Linked DNA regions of Homo sapiens: all the other regions are linked to region 3. The links are contacts of gene promoters, found by promoter capture Hi-C in human tissues and cell types (Jung and others, 2019). All regions are on one chromosome and are shown on one strand. Each heading gives the region's core, a stretch centred on a gene start or on the middle of the fragment in contact. The rest is flanking DNA. Distances are from core to core; before and after follow the strand shown.

Region 1 (3,401 bases), core at 827-3,326, 80 kb before region 3:
GGAGATTAACTATGAGTGCAGATGTACAGTTGGAGCCCTACAATAAACAAAAGGTTCTGATTCTGCCCCACCAAACAACAGCAGCTGCTCTTGTTCTGGTTGGGCAGGGTTGAGTATCTGAGCCTTTGGGAAGAGAAAGTTAATAGGATCAGGGCTTCTTCCAGCATGAGAAAGATGGTGTTGTTCATGAGATGTACCCATTGTGCAGACTGGTGAGGGCGGGGCTGCTGGGTCCACCTGTTACCGGACAGGGGTCCCATTCCAGACCCCAACAGAGGGTTCTTGGATCTCATGCAAGAAAGAATTTGAGGTGAATCCATAAAGTGAAAGCAAGCTTAGAAGTAAAGAAACAAAAGAATGGCTACTCCATAAGCAGAGCAGTCCCAAGGGCTGCTTGTTGGCTATTTTTGTGGTTATTTCTTGATTAAATGCTGAATACGGGTGGATTATTCATGAGTTTTCTGGGAAAGGTGCAGGCAATTCCTGGATCTGAGGGTTCTTCCCCCTTTTAGACCATATAGGGTAACTTCCTGACATTGCCATGACATTTGTAAACTGTCATGGCGCTGGTGGGAGTGTCTTTTAGCATGATAATGCATTATAATTAGCATATAATGAGCAGTGAGGAAGACCAGAGGTCACTTTCATTACCATCTTGGTTTTGATGGGTTTGGCTAGCTTCTTTACCACAACCTGTCCTGTCAGCAGGGTCTTTGTGACCTGTTTCTTGTGCTGACCTCCTATCTCATCCTGTGACTTAGAATGCCTAACCTCCTAGGAAAGCAGCCCAGTAGGTCTCAGCCTCATTTTACCCAGGCCCTATTCAAGATGGAGTCGCTCTGGTTCAAACACCTCTGACACACCAGGCCATGCCACTGAGTGTCAGAGACTGAACAGCTTGTGGGATCAGGGCTGAGACTCTCCATGCTGAAAGCTGCAAATAAATCACGGTTCCAGCCCCCTCATTTGCAGCTGGGGACTCAAGTCTGGAGGGGGAGTTTTATGTGCTTGCAATGTACAAGAGAACTGATTGAGGTTGGGAATCTGTCTTGGACCAAAGTCGAAATTCATATGATTGGACTGGTTTCTGTGACTGGGTCTCCAGTGTGTGGCTGGGTCTTTTCAATGTGGCTTAGGTTGGATGTCAGTCCTTGGCTCCTCTCCAGGATCCTGTCTGTGACTGAGACTATCTCTGTGCATCACTAACTCTAACCTCCCCCTGAGAATCTCACCTGTGACCTTGGTCTCAACTGCACCAGTCACATCCTCCTGTCCTCAACGGTGAAAACCTGGCAGATGCTCAGCCTGCCCCTGCCCCAGGAGTGCTGTGGTCAGCTGAGCTGTGGAAGTCGAGGCTGGAAAGGACCTCATCAGCCAGTGGAGGGGAGGGGAAGGGAGGAGATCCTGTGAGCAGGCTAAGGTGGTAGACCTTGCCCCTCTGTGGCCAGAACCTGCCCAGGCCAAGTGGGCATCAGCTTTGCCCAGAGAAACAGCTGCCCTAGCTGCAACTGACCCCAGTTGGTGATGAGGTCTATTGAGGAACAAAGAATCAAGAGCAAACAACCAAGAGCATCCATCCCTCCCAGAAGGGGGTCTCACTTCTGTTGTCAGCTACAGAGAAGAGAGGCGGCTGGCCCAGCTCCACCTCCACCTTCTCCTGGGCAGTGTCTGGCCCTTCCATGGCTCCTTCACGGAAGGAGAGTGAGGGGAAGCTGCTGCATGGACTGGAATCAGCCCAGTGGTCCTTCTGCCTAACCACATTGAAGACAGGGCCAGTGATTTATGTATGTATGTATGTATGTATGTATGTATGTATGTATGTATGTATGTATTTTTAGAGACTGGGTCTCACTCTGTTGCCAGGCTGGAGTGCAGTGGCATGACCATAGCTCACTGCAGTCTTGACCTCCTGGGCTCAAGTGATCCTCCTGCCTTAGCCTCCCAAATAGCTAGGACTAACACGGTTGGCTAAAACCAAAGCTTTAAATATATAGAATCCTTGAGCCACAACCAGGAGTGGATGCTAGGCTTCTGTGGTAGGTAGCCTACTGTGTAGGCTCCTATGTAGGAGGTACGTCTCTGTGTAACATGAGAGCTCATGGTTAGAACCTTCTAAATGTGGGACAGTTACCTTAGGAGGTAATGAGCTGTCTGTCTCTGGGGGAGTTCAAGCAGAGGCTGGAAAATTCCTTGGTGGGGTTCATTCATCCACTCATTCATCTTCCATCTACTCATCCATCCAATATTTTTCACTTATCAAATTTATGCCAGGTGCTGGACTAGTTGATTCAACCATGAATAAGATAGAAATGGCTTGTGGCTTCACAGTGCTATGATGGGGAAACGCTGGGGACTACAGAAGCAGGGTAGAGGGCGGCATGACCTAGACCTGGCAGTCAGGGAAGGCTTCCTGGAGTAAGTGATCTTTGAAGCTAAAGGCTGAAGGTTGAGAAGGACTTAGCTGCAAGGAGTCAATAGAGTGTGAGCCAGTCAATGACACAGTCAGATGTGTGTCTTAGCTGGTTTCCTCAGAGGCAGACCCTGAGGCAGGGATCCAAGGGTGTATGGTTTCCACTGGGGGGTGACTCCAGAAAATACCAGTGAGGGGGTGTGGTAGTGAGACAGGAAAGGGAGGCAGCCAAGAAGGTGTATGTGGTCAAGCAAGTCACCTCTGTGTGCAAATGGAGCTTCCACCTGCTGTAGAACTCTGGGAGCCAGTGTGGCATATGTCCTGCAGTTATTCCCTGGACAGGGAGTGAGCTGGGGTATTTGTATACCAACTTTCCTCAGCCACTGGTTGTGGGTTTTTCTGGACTGAGTGGGACATGGACACTATTCTCAAATAATTCTGGCCTCCTGATGGGGCAGGCAGAGTGGGCCCCAGCACAGGCCTTAGACAGAGGTGCAGGGGCTGGTGGTTGTGGTGGGGTCTGAGGGGATCTGCGCAGGGTGCTGGCATCACCGTGGCTGCAGGGTGAGTGAGGGGCATGCACGAGCCCTGAGATCAGTGAGAAGGCCAAAGGCGGAGTGGGCCAAGCAAGAGATACTGGCGACCAAGAGAGGCTGTGGTTATGAGGAAGCGACAGATGTCAGGATGTGGAGCGGCGTGGAGGAATGGAGATGCTGGTGAGCAAGAGGAACCACAGTCTCCCAAGGCTGCAGCAGCCCCCTCACCACAAGGAACTCCCTCGCTCCCTCACCCCTACACCACCTCCCCCTCCAGCAGGCATCTCCTCCGTCCAAACACATCAGGGACGCCAGGCTCACTGCCAGCTTGTCAGGACCACGAAGGTGTATATGGAGGGAGATGATGGTGCTGTGGCAACTGCTTAAAAAACAAAAGCTGGGGCTGGCTCACGCCTGTGATCCCAGCACTTTGGGAGGCCAAGGTGGGAGGATCG
Region 2 (3,205 bases), core at 606-3,105, 91 kb after region 3:
CCAGCTGAGGCCAGGCAGCAGAGGCCAGTTTGTCTTTGCTGGCCAGAAGATGGTGCTCATGGCCATACTCTGGCCTTGCAGATGTCACTAGTGTTACTTCTAGTGACTCCAGATTACAGACTGGCCCCCCAATCTCACCCCAGCCCACCAGAGAAGGGGGCTCAGGACACCCTGGACCCCAAGTCCTCAGCATCCAGGGATTTCCAAACTGGCGCTCACTCCCTGACTCCACCAGGATGGCAACTTCAATTATCACTCTCAGCCTGGAAGGGGACTCTGTGGGACACAGAGGGAACACGATTTCTCAGGCTGTCCCTTCAATCATTGCCCTTCTCCGAAGATCGCTCCTGCTGGAGTCGGACATCTTCATCTTCTACCTGGCTCAAGCTGGGCCAGAGTGTGTGGTTCTCCCAGGGGTGGTTGGACCCCAGGACTGAGGACCAGAGTCCACTCATAGCCTGGCCCTGGAGATGACAAGGGCCACCCAGGCCAAGTGCCCCAGGGCAGGGTGCCAGCCCCTGGCCTGGTGCTGGAGTGGGGAAGACACACTCACCCACGGTGCTGTAAGGGCCTGAGCTGTGCTCAGCTGCCGGCCATGCTACCTCCAAGGGACAGGTAACAGTCTTAGATCCTCTGGCTCTCAGGAAGTGGCAGGGGGTCCCAGGACACCTCCGGGGTCTTGGAGGATGTCTCCTAAACTCCTGCCAGGTGATAGAGGTGCTTCTCACTTCTTCCTTCCCCAAGGCAAAGGGGCTGTTCTGAGCCAGCCTGGAGGAACATGAGTAGTGGGCCCCTGGCCTGCAACCCCTTTGGAGAGTGGAGGTCCTGGGGGGCTCCCCGCCCTCCCCCTGTTGCCCTCCCCTCCCTGGGATGCTGGGGCACACGCGGAGTCATTCCTGTGAGAACCAGCCTGGCCTGTGTTAAACTCTTGTGCCTTGGAAATCCAGATCTTTAAAATTTTATGTATTTATTAACATCGCCATTGGACCCCAAAAGGTTGTGTGTGTGTTTCTTTTTCTCTCTCTGATTTATGGGAAGGGGACAATGAAGCCAGAGCTCGAAGGTTGAGGGCTGGGCTGTAGCAAGAGAACTGGGGGTGGGGGCGCAGCTCACTGTGGCTGTCTCCTGTCCCTCCACCTTTCCACCCATGCCCTGCTGCGTCACTGCCAGGTGGGACACAGGGTTGCCACTGGTTTCTTGGCTACTGAATCTCCTGTTTCCCTGAGGCCCAAGTTCCAGGACAACACTTTATTTCAGGTTATTGTGAAATTCTCAACCTGTTTAAATGCAACTAGAGGCCAGTGGGGCAGAGTGGCTCATGCCTGTAATCCCAGCACTTTTGGAGGTGGGAGTTCCAGACCAGCCTGAGCAACATAGCAAGATCCCGTCTCAACAAAAAATAAAAAGAACATTAGCCAGGCGTGGTGTTGCACGCCTGTGGTCTCAGCTATTTAGGAGGTGGAAGTGAGAGGATCCCTTGAGCCCAGGAGTTTGAGGCCACACTGAGCTGTGATTGCGCCATGGCACTCCAGCCTGGGTGACAGAGCATGACCCTGTCTCAAAAACAAAAAAGAACAACAAGAGGGGCTCTCTAAAGGAATCTTAGCAACCACAGAACAAAGAGACTGTCACTGAAAGCAAAATGACTGCAACCACTTTTGCCTTCTAAGCAGTGGCAGAATTTGTGTCATGGAGTAAAAGAATCTACACTGCTGGGCACTTAGAAAAGGTGAAGCTGGCAAAAGGGCTTCTTGTCATTGTGCAGAGCTCACTCCTCCCCTTAAGGCCGAGGAGAAAATGGTTTGGAGACTCCTACCCCCGTGGGGGTGGGAACACAGAGAGGGCAGCCTCTCCATCTGTCTTTGGCTGGGGGCTTTTTAGGATGCAGGTTGTCTAATATGTCTAAGGTTCAATTAAATTTCTGTTGCCATCTCCCCAAACATCTGGAAATGTCCACTCTCCAAATTGAGGGCTTTTTATGGGTCAGGATTTTTGCTTGTTTTGGTGGAAACTGAGAAAATGAAAGGATTCACGGGTGAAGATAGAGGAACAGCACCAAGGGCCCTCTTTCCATCGCAGCCTCAGAAACATCCCTCACTTCCTGTAGGAGCCCAGTGGGAAAGGCCATATGGGAATGGTCTCACCTCTTCCTGCCCTAAACGGTTTCCTGTTTGGAGTCTGGTGGGTGCAGGTGCCAGGGTGCCAGATTGCCTGTCTCTTCCCTGGAGGGGATTCTCCAGGCCACTCTGACTTCAAGGCTTTATCCACACCTGCCCCATGCTTGGCAGAGCCCTGCCGCAGTGACAGCCAGGTGCCCAGAGTCTAGCCTATCAGCCCCGACTGGCTTCCAGAGCCTTTGCCCTGGTCTGCCAAGCTTCCTCAACCCATAGCCAGGGGCCAGCACACCTGTCATTTTGGAGGAAGCCCCCTGAAGTTCCAGCATCTCCTTGCCCTTGGGGTCAGTAGGGACAGTGCTGCACAGAGTCACCCTTAGCCTCCTGTTCAAAGAGCCTGGGAAGTCCTCACCATGGCTGTCTTCTGTGTCCAGATGGCCTCCTTGAGGTTCCAGCCTGTGACTTCATTTGGGCTAGTAAGGCCTGAAAGCTCCTGGTGGAGAAGGGATCGGGGGGATGGCAAGGGTTTAGGGACAGCAGGAGACTTACCTTCCCATTCCTCCAGAGGAGAAAAGGGGCAATTGGAGCCTCATCATGTTCCTGGGCAATAGACTGGCCTCTGGGCCCTTTTTTGATTTACCCTCCTGGTGAAACTCCAGGCCTTCCACCTGAAATGACACAGCAGGCAGGGGAAGAGGGGAAGGCACAGAGCCTGGGCCATCTGACCTGGAACTCTGTGGGCTCTTCCAAAGAGCCCCTGCTCCCTACCTGGCTTCAGGAGACTGAAGGCTTGGGGGAAGGTAGGGGTCTGGGGGGAGGAGGGAAAGAGCAAGAAGGGGTGGAAATGTAGCTGGGGCAGTCCCAGGGACCCAGCTGCCACAGATTAGAAATCTCTGGGGCCTACACCACAAATCTTCTCCTTTAAAAAATTATGCAAGAAATATATGCTCATTATTGAAAAATTTTACAACCTGAGGAAAAAAAATCTATAATTCTACTTAGCAATAACCACTGTTAATAATTTAGTTATCCATTCCAGATGTGTGCATGTGCAAGATTGTTTGTGTCTGTACACACACACATGCACGCTG
Region 3 (3,526 bases), core at 342-2,841:
GAGACCCTGAGAAGGGAAGCCATTTTATCCAGAGATCATTTGGTGGGCTTGGGTTTGCAGAGGGCCAGAGCTGTGAAGCTCCAGCCTGGTCATCTCCCAGCCTTCTCTCTCTCTCTCTCTTTCTCTCTCTCTCTCTTTCTCTCTCTCTCTTTCCTATCTCTCTCTCTCTTTCCTCTCTCTCTCTCTCTCTCTCTCACACACACACACACACACACACACACACACACACACACCCTCTAACTTTCTTGCTCTGTCATCCCTCACACACAGAATCCTGTCTGGACCTTGACTTTGCACATCATTTTTTTTTTTTTTTGAGACAGGGTATTGCTCTGTCACCCAGGCTGGGTACAGTGGTGTGAGCTGAAGCTCAGCTCACTGCAGCTTCAGCCTCTCAGGCTAAAGCAACCCTTCCGCCTCAGCCTCCCAAAGTGTTGGGACTATAGGCGTGAGCCACTGCACGCAGCCAACACACATCTTAAAAGACCAGAAAGAGGAGAAAGAGGAACTCTATTCTTCCTGAATTTAATATAGATCAATTTGGTTGTGGCATTTCCAAATAACTGGATGCTCTGATGTAGCTTGGAATGCTTGGAATATAATATACTTTAGCTTTCTGAACCTGCTTCTTAAATGCACTGGTCCTCCAAAACCTTGGCATCATTTCCAAGATTCTTTATTCCATGGTTATTACAAAAAAATCTCCTTTCCACAACTCCCACCCCTGGATTGCTTGAAATATAGTTTATTTGCAAGTTATTAGTTACATATTTACAGAGTAAAGCAAGAGCATGGATCTTCTGTTGGGTTGTTTGTACTGACTCCTGACCTGGTCTCAACACCATTGCAAGACTAGCATCAAGTGCTCATCTCTCAGACTCTTGGTTCTTTCCACCTTGGGATGCCACAGTTGCTACTGGTGTCAGGGATGGAAGTGGAGGGCAGTTATCACTTATTGAGCATCTATTATGTGCTGTAGTTAACACCCATTTCACAGATAAGACAACTGAGGCTCAGAGCTAGGATTTCAATCAGGGCTGTCTGACTCTGAAGCCAGGGCTCTCTCCTCACCGGCTCAGCCCTGCTCTTGGCTAGGACACAGGTCAGTCGTGCACCCTGGGCTGGAGTCTGGAAAATGGGTAGATCCAAGGGGTCGATGGTTAGTGAGGGCATCAAGACCATAGTGAAAGAAAGAGGGAGTCTCCCTCTACCGGGAGGTTCACTGTCCACCACACTCCCAAATGCAGCCGGACACCCCTTGGGCTCCTGGCTCTGGAACAGAAACAGAGAGCAGGCCCTGCGGCCAAGAAAGGGGGCGGAGCAGCCATAGAAAGCGGCTTTGGGCCACCACTCCGGGGATCCCAGGCGTCTGAGGGGACAATCGGTCCGTGCGCCAGGAACCCCTGCTCTGTCTCCGCGTGGCACTTCCGATCCCCGGCCGCAGGCAGCTGCACTCCCCAGCCGCGCGCCCCGCCCCCGGGCGCCCGGCGCCCCAGCTCCGACCCGCGCCCGGCCCCGCCCCGCCCAGTGTGCCCACCCCCGGCCCGTCCCGCCGCCCCGTCGCCCGGCTCCCGCGGAGTCCCGGAGCGTCACTGCGCGGGCGGGCTGACCGACCAGCCGGCAGTTGGCACCGGGTGCGCTGGCGCGTCAGTGGCCCCGCTCTCCAGCCGGCAGCCTCGCGCGCCCGGAGCCAGCGGTCCAGGCGGCGGCGCCGCGCAGGGGACCCGGAGCAGGCGGGAGGGAAGCAGCTAGGCGGGGAGGCGGCTGAGGCGGCAGCGGCGGCAGCCAGCCGGTGCTCCGACAGCCCGGGGCGCACCCTAGCCTCGCCGCCCTCAGCCTGGGACTTGGGGATCGGGCGCTTGCCCAGCCCGCGTCCCAGCGCGGCCACATGGCTCCACTCCGCGCGCTGCTGTCCTACCTGCTGCCTTTGCACTGTGCGCTCTGCGCCGCCGCGGGCAGCCGGACCCCAGGTGCGTGCGGGTTGGGCGCGCGGGGGCCCGTGGGGTCCGGGGTGCACGCGGTCAGGGTGGCCCAAGGTTGCCCCAGCCACCCGGGCAGGGTTCCCGCGGGTGGGAGGCAGTATGCACACTCTGGGCTGATTTGCTGTCTTTTCTTCCACTGTGCCACGGCACTGTCCCGTGATTTCTCTCCCTTTCTGGTACTAGAAGTAGACAGAGACCCCAGGAGAGAATTTGGGAGCATCGAGTCTCTTCTCGGGAGCAGCGCATCTGTCTCTTTGTCTCTCTGTGTTTCTTCTTTCCCCTCTTCCCCAATCTGTTTCTCTGTCCTGTGTGTCTTTCTCTTTCAATGTCTTTTCTGTCTCCAACTTGTGTGAGCATGGGTGCAAGGGGTGTGTGTGTGTGTGTGTCTGTGTGTGGCTGTTACATACCCAGCATAAGGCTAACAGGTGATTGCCTCCTACAGCAGAGCATGCGGGGCACTCACGCTCCTGCACAGAAACACACATCCTTCCACTGCCCCCAACGTAGCACTGTCAAACGCTGTGGACACAGGTCTCTTGCATACAGACCAGATACACTCCACTCCCGCCCTGCAGCATGGGGTACCCTCCTGGTGGCTCTGAACATGGGGAGGAGTCACCGGTCATTTCCAGGCAGGGTCCCTCCTTGTTTGTGAGCCTTGTTCATGTGCCAGAGTGGGTCCCCTCTTGCAGCAGTCTTAGGGGTCCTCTGCTATAATGGGGATGAAACTAGAGCTGTGGGCATGGGGGATTTTCAGGAAACACCACTTTCTATGTTTCATCAGTGACGTGAACTGGGGAGACGAGAGGTAGAGCTGTGTGGAAATGAAAATTCCTCCCAAACTCGCATTCATGAATCACCAGGCCTGGAAGCCAGGGAGCTGTCATTCCTGCCCAGCCTGGCTGGGCTCAAGGAGAGCTGCGTGAGGATGGGCCTGCTGGCATGTGGCCTGGAGCATGGGGCCATGACCTCACAGTTAATTCAGCCCAAGTGGGCAGGTCACCCCCTGTATATCCTTTTATTTTTGAAGATCTATATTTATCCAGCTTGGGGCTCGGCCATACAGAGATCTCAGCGGCCACTGTCCTCCTGTAAAAAGTTTTCTTTCTAACCTTGGAAAAATAGAGAACCGCTCCCCTCTGCAGCCCCACCTTCTCCTTGACACGTGCCCATGGTCCCCTGGGTTTCTAGGTGTGTTTGTTTTGCCAGCTGCGTTCTTGGAAGTTTGGGGAGGAGGGCACTACCCCAGCCTGGGCTGGTGACTTCAGCACACTGGGGAGTTTGGGCAGATCTGCCCTTCCCTTTATTTGCCCTGTTGGCTTTTGGGGAATTTTAGTCCTTTTCTGGGCAGAGCCCAAGGTCGGAAGTCTTGTTGCTAGTGACCGGGCTCTGTCTGGTATCATTTGCTTTCTTCTGCTAAGTTTAAAAAGGACCTGGGGGCTACAGGGAGTGCCACAAGGTACCCGAACACCCTTCATCCAAGTGTAGGAATCCTGGAGCTCAGGAAGCAATGGATGGAAAATGGGTGAACTCAGGCTAAGGGG
Region 4 (3,352 bases), core at 169-2,668, 110 kb after region 3:
GTCATCCACTATATATAATGTGTGGATAATATAAAATAACTACTAAACAGTATAAATGTTGTTTAAAAACATATTATTTTTCTTTCATAAATGGTTTAGTTTATGTGTGTTCCAGAGGACCACAAGTTCCAGAGGACCACATAGCCTGAGATCCTTTCTAAAAATAAAAGTTTAAAAGCAAGCAAAATGATCATGAACATGCGATAAAACAGCAACAACAGCATCAAACAAGGAAATGCTAAGCACGAAATTCACATAGTGGCTATTTCCGAGGGAAGGCGGGGAGGGGAAGTGTGCAGGAGAAGCGCATATAAGGAGATGTGTTAGTGATGATGTTCTTGTTCTTGGTTTGGGTGGTGTATTTGCTTGTGTTTATTATATTATTAAATAAACTAATTAAATGGCATAGATGAAAGATGATAGGTGTCAAAACCAAGAATTATGATTAAATCTATGGACCTGAATATATATATCTAGCCAAAGTGCTAGGGATGGGGTTGGGACAGGACATCAGTGCATTCTGAGAATTAACCCTCAGAGTCACAGAATCTGCAAGGGACCCCAGAGATCTCCCAATGCCAGCCTTCATCAGGTAGTGGGATGGGTTGGAGTTGTCTGAGATCAGGGAAGCAGGGGAGATTTGCTGAGGTCACACAGAAGGAACCAGAGCCCGGGCAGTCTGACTCACAGTTTGCTGATCTTTTCTTTCCTTAAAAGGAAGCTCCAGACATCCTTGATGTCAGGTACTGGGCTCTAGAGTACTGAGATGCTACAATCTTGAGAACAGGATATGTGGAAGCCCCAAATCCTCCTGCCTATGGGAAAAAGTACTCTTTAGAACAGAGACTTGCAAATGTGTTTGGCTGTGATGACGGTAAGAAATTCTTTATGTCATGATCCAATTCACATATGGGTTTGTGTGTGTGTGTGAAACTAAAACAATAATATCCTGAAGCAATATTTATCCGTACTACATATGATGCACACTGATATTTTTACCCTATTTTTGGTTTTTATTTCTTAAATGTTAGATATGATCCATTTAAATTGATCTAATAAGCCACCAGGGGGTCATAACCCACAGCGGCTGTAGAGAGGCTGACAGGGACTCTAGTAGGCCAAGCCTGCCTTGTCCAGAGCGGGACAGGTGGGACCCCAGTGTAGTCTGCCCTGCCCTGCCCCTGCTCTCTGTCCCTGGGGCCCCAGCCAGCCAGGCAGAGGGGTCTGAGGGCTCCCATCAATCCAGCCACAAAACTTCCCTTTCTACCTCTGCCCTTCTGGGCTGTCCAGGGTCCATCTCCTCTCCCGAGAGGTCCCTGGACTCACCAAGGCAGTGCCCGCTACAGCATGTGTACGAGAAGCCCTGCTGTCCTAGCAGGAAGGAGCAAGAGGACAAATCGAGGGGAAGGCTGTGGGTTCTGTGGGCAAGTCTGCCTGCTTTGTGACACTGAGCCCAGTGGTTGCTAGGTTACCCTGTTCCCACAACTCCAGAACCTCTGCCCAGCACCCCTCTACCACATCCCCTGCCTATCTCCCCCTCCTGGAAGGGTAGACAAGGGCTAAGGACCTTCTGTCCCTCCTGACTTCCCTGCTGCCTCCCATCCAACACTTTCAATGGGGGCCAAGGGAGAGAAGGAGAGTCTGGGGCTGGTTTTAGCCAGAGAGAAGCGGATGGAGGCGGAACGCTGGCAGAGGACGTTGGTGGGCTGCGTCCCAGCTTCGTCAGCCCCACCTGGCCTGACCCCACCACACAGGGGTCGGCTTCCATGCATCTTGGTTCTGGGGACCCATTCTCAGGGAGGTGGGTCTTGGAAGGAGAGAAGATGGCAGCCCGCATTACCCAGAGGGACCCCAGCCCCTCTCTCTGCATGACAGCTGGGTGGGAAGATTCTGGGCTTGCATTTGGACAGGTGTTTTAATCAGATTTCAACATCCCATAGACACGTTACCTTGGGTAAGTCACCGGGACTGCCACAGATGCAAAATAGTGGGAAGAATCCTTGCTTCGAGTCCCTATTCTGCTACTTCCTAGTTGTGTGGCCTCAGACAATGCACCTGCCTTCTCTGAGCCTTAGTTCCCATATCTCTAAAATGGAGATGATGATACTGCACTTATTCTCACAGGATGTTTGAGAATATTAAGTGAGTTGATATATATTAAAGCGTTTCAAACAGTATCTGCCCCCAAGTATAATTTCTTACTATTATTGCCTTCTCTGGGTCTATAAAATGGGATATCCTCACCTACTTCTGTGGTTGTTCTGAAGACAAGCTAATGGAAGTGAAGCCTTTAGTTGTATGTCTGGCACACAAGAGATGCTCAAAAAGGATAATAATCATCATTATTATTGGTAACTTGATGGAGGTAGTAGGATGAGTCCTTTGTCTGAGAACTATCTTAGGTAGTTCACTATTTCTCTGAGGCTCAACTTGGACACCTGTCAAATGGGGGTAAGGATAGTTCTTAGCCGACAGGGCTGTAACTCAATCAGATCCCGGGAGGGGTGCAGACAGGCTCTGTAAACTATGGGAAGGCTTGCAGACAGTGCCGGGTGCTGTCCCTCAGAATGATGAGGTGGGCTTTTCCCAGGGCCTTTGCTCTCAGCACCCCTGGCTTCATACTGGTGCCCTGGGGCTTCCAGACTCTGTGTCTTTTCTCTGGGGAGCAAGAAAAGGAAGGTGGGTAGCTAGAGGCAAACCCAAGTCCTTCAAAAGTTCTGCCCCTCCCAGCTAAGGGGTGGGGATTCATACCACTCTGGTGGCCCCCTGAGGGCTGTCCTCTGGTCTTGGCCTACTCCAAATGCCCACCCATCCTTCGGCAGGTCAGGATGTTCCCTGGCTTTTTCTGGGCCTGTCTCTGCAGGAATACGGTGACTCTTTTGAAATCATACTGAAAACCCCCTCTTCCATACTTCTGGGCATCCTGGCAGCTGTGAAGATAGATGATATAGCATTTGGGAGAAGAGAGGCTTTCTTCCCCGTGACAAGCCACTCCTCCCTCCTGCTTTCAGCACTCTTGTGGCATTTCCCACCACGCGAGCTGACTCAGCTGAGATGAAAACCCACTCTCATCCTCCCCACTGGTGCCTTGTAATGCTTCAACTATGTTATTTACAATCGAGCATGGGGGTCTGCATAGGGACTGCAGCTGGGGGGATGAAGGGGTTCCTCAGGAAATGTCTTCAACACTGGTTTGTAAAAGAAGAACTGAGGAAACTCTTCTGACTCCTTTGTGGAGTGTCAAAAACTGTAGAGAGATCTGTCAGCCTGAGAGTGATTTGAGGTACAGTCCTTGGCCTGGATGACTCAGTCATAACAGAGGCAATAGAAACTTCATGGAACACTTTCTATG

The links. Contacts are between HindIII fragments. The study calls those that stand out against the background at their distance.
Region 1: a contact is called between a fragment that was not itself captured here and the fragment with the promoter of ADAMTS14 in region 3, in 7 of the 25 tissues and cell types used here (IMR-90 fibroblasts, aorta, dorsolateral prefrontal cortex and 4 more).
Region 2: a contact is called between a fragment that was not itself captured here and the fragment with the promoter of ADAMTS14 in region 3, in 5 of the 25 tissues and cell types used here (IMR-90 fibroblasts, heart left ventricle, liver and 2 more).
Region 4: a contact is called between the fragment with the promoter of TBATA here and the fragment with the promoter of ADAMTS14 in region 3, in 6 of the 25 tissues and cell types used here (heart left ventricle, liver, mesenchymal stem cells and 3 more).

Annotation. Positions count from the first base shown.
Region 1 is chr10:70,589,962-70,593,362 of GRCh38, forward strand. No RefSeq gene overlaps it. Among named protein-coding and RNA genes, the nearest start is that of PRF1, 11 kb to the right of the region's middle. The HindIII fragment of the contact is 5,825 bases long and covers 1-3,401 here.
Region 2 is chr10:70,761,447-70,764,651 of GRCh38, forward strand. It overlaps ADAMTS14 (ADAM metallopeptidase with thrombospondin type 1 motif 14), which reads left to right. Exons shown (of 22, transcript NM_080722.4): 22 at 1-995. Among named protein-coding and RNA genes, the nearest start is that of TBATA, 22 kb to the right of the region's middle. RefSeq lists an enhancer at 340-1,109. The HindIII fragment of the contact is 6,281 bases long and covers 1-3,205 here.
Region 3 is chr10:70,670,915-70,674,440 of GRCh38, forward strand. It overlaps ADAMTS14 (ADAM metallopeptidase with thrombospondin type 1 motif 14), which reads left to right and starts at 1,592. Exons shown (of 22, transcript NM_080722.4): 1 at 1,592-1,970. The coding sequence starts at 1,889. RefSeq lists a silencer at 179-473. The HindIII fragment of the contact is 21,684 bases long and covers 1-3,526 here.
Region 4 is chr10:70,783,959-70,787,310 of GRCh38, forward strand. TBATA (thymus, brain and testes associated) reads right to left here and starts at 1,419. Exons shown (of 11, transcript NM_001318241.2): 1 at 1,327-1,419; 2 at 689-815. The HindIII fragment of the contact is 18,774 bases long and covers 1-3,352 here.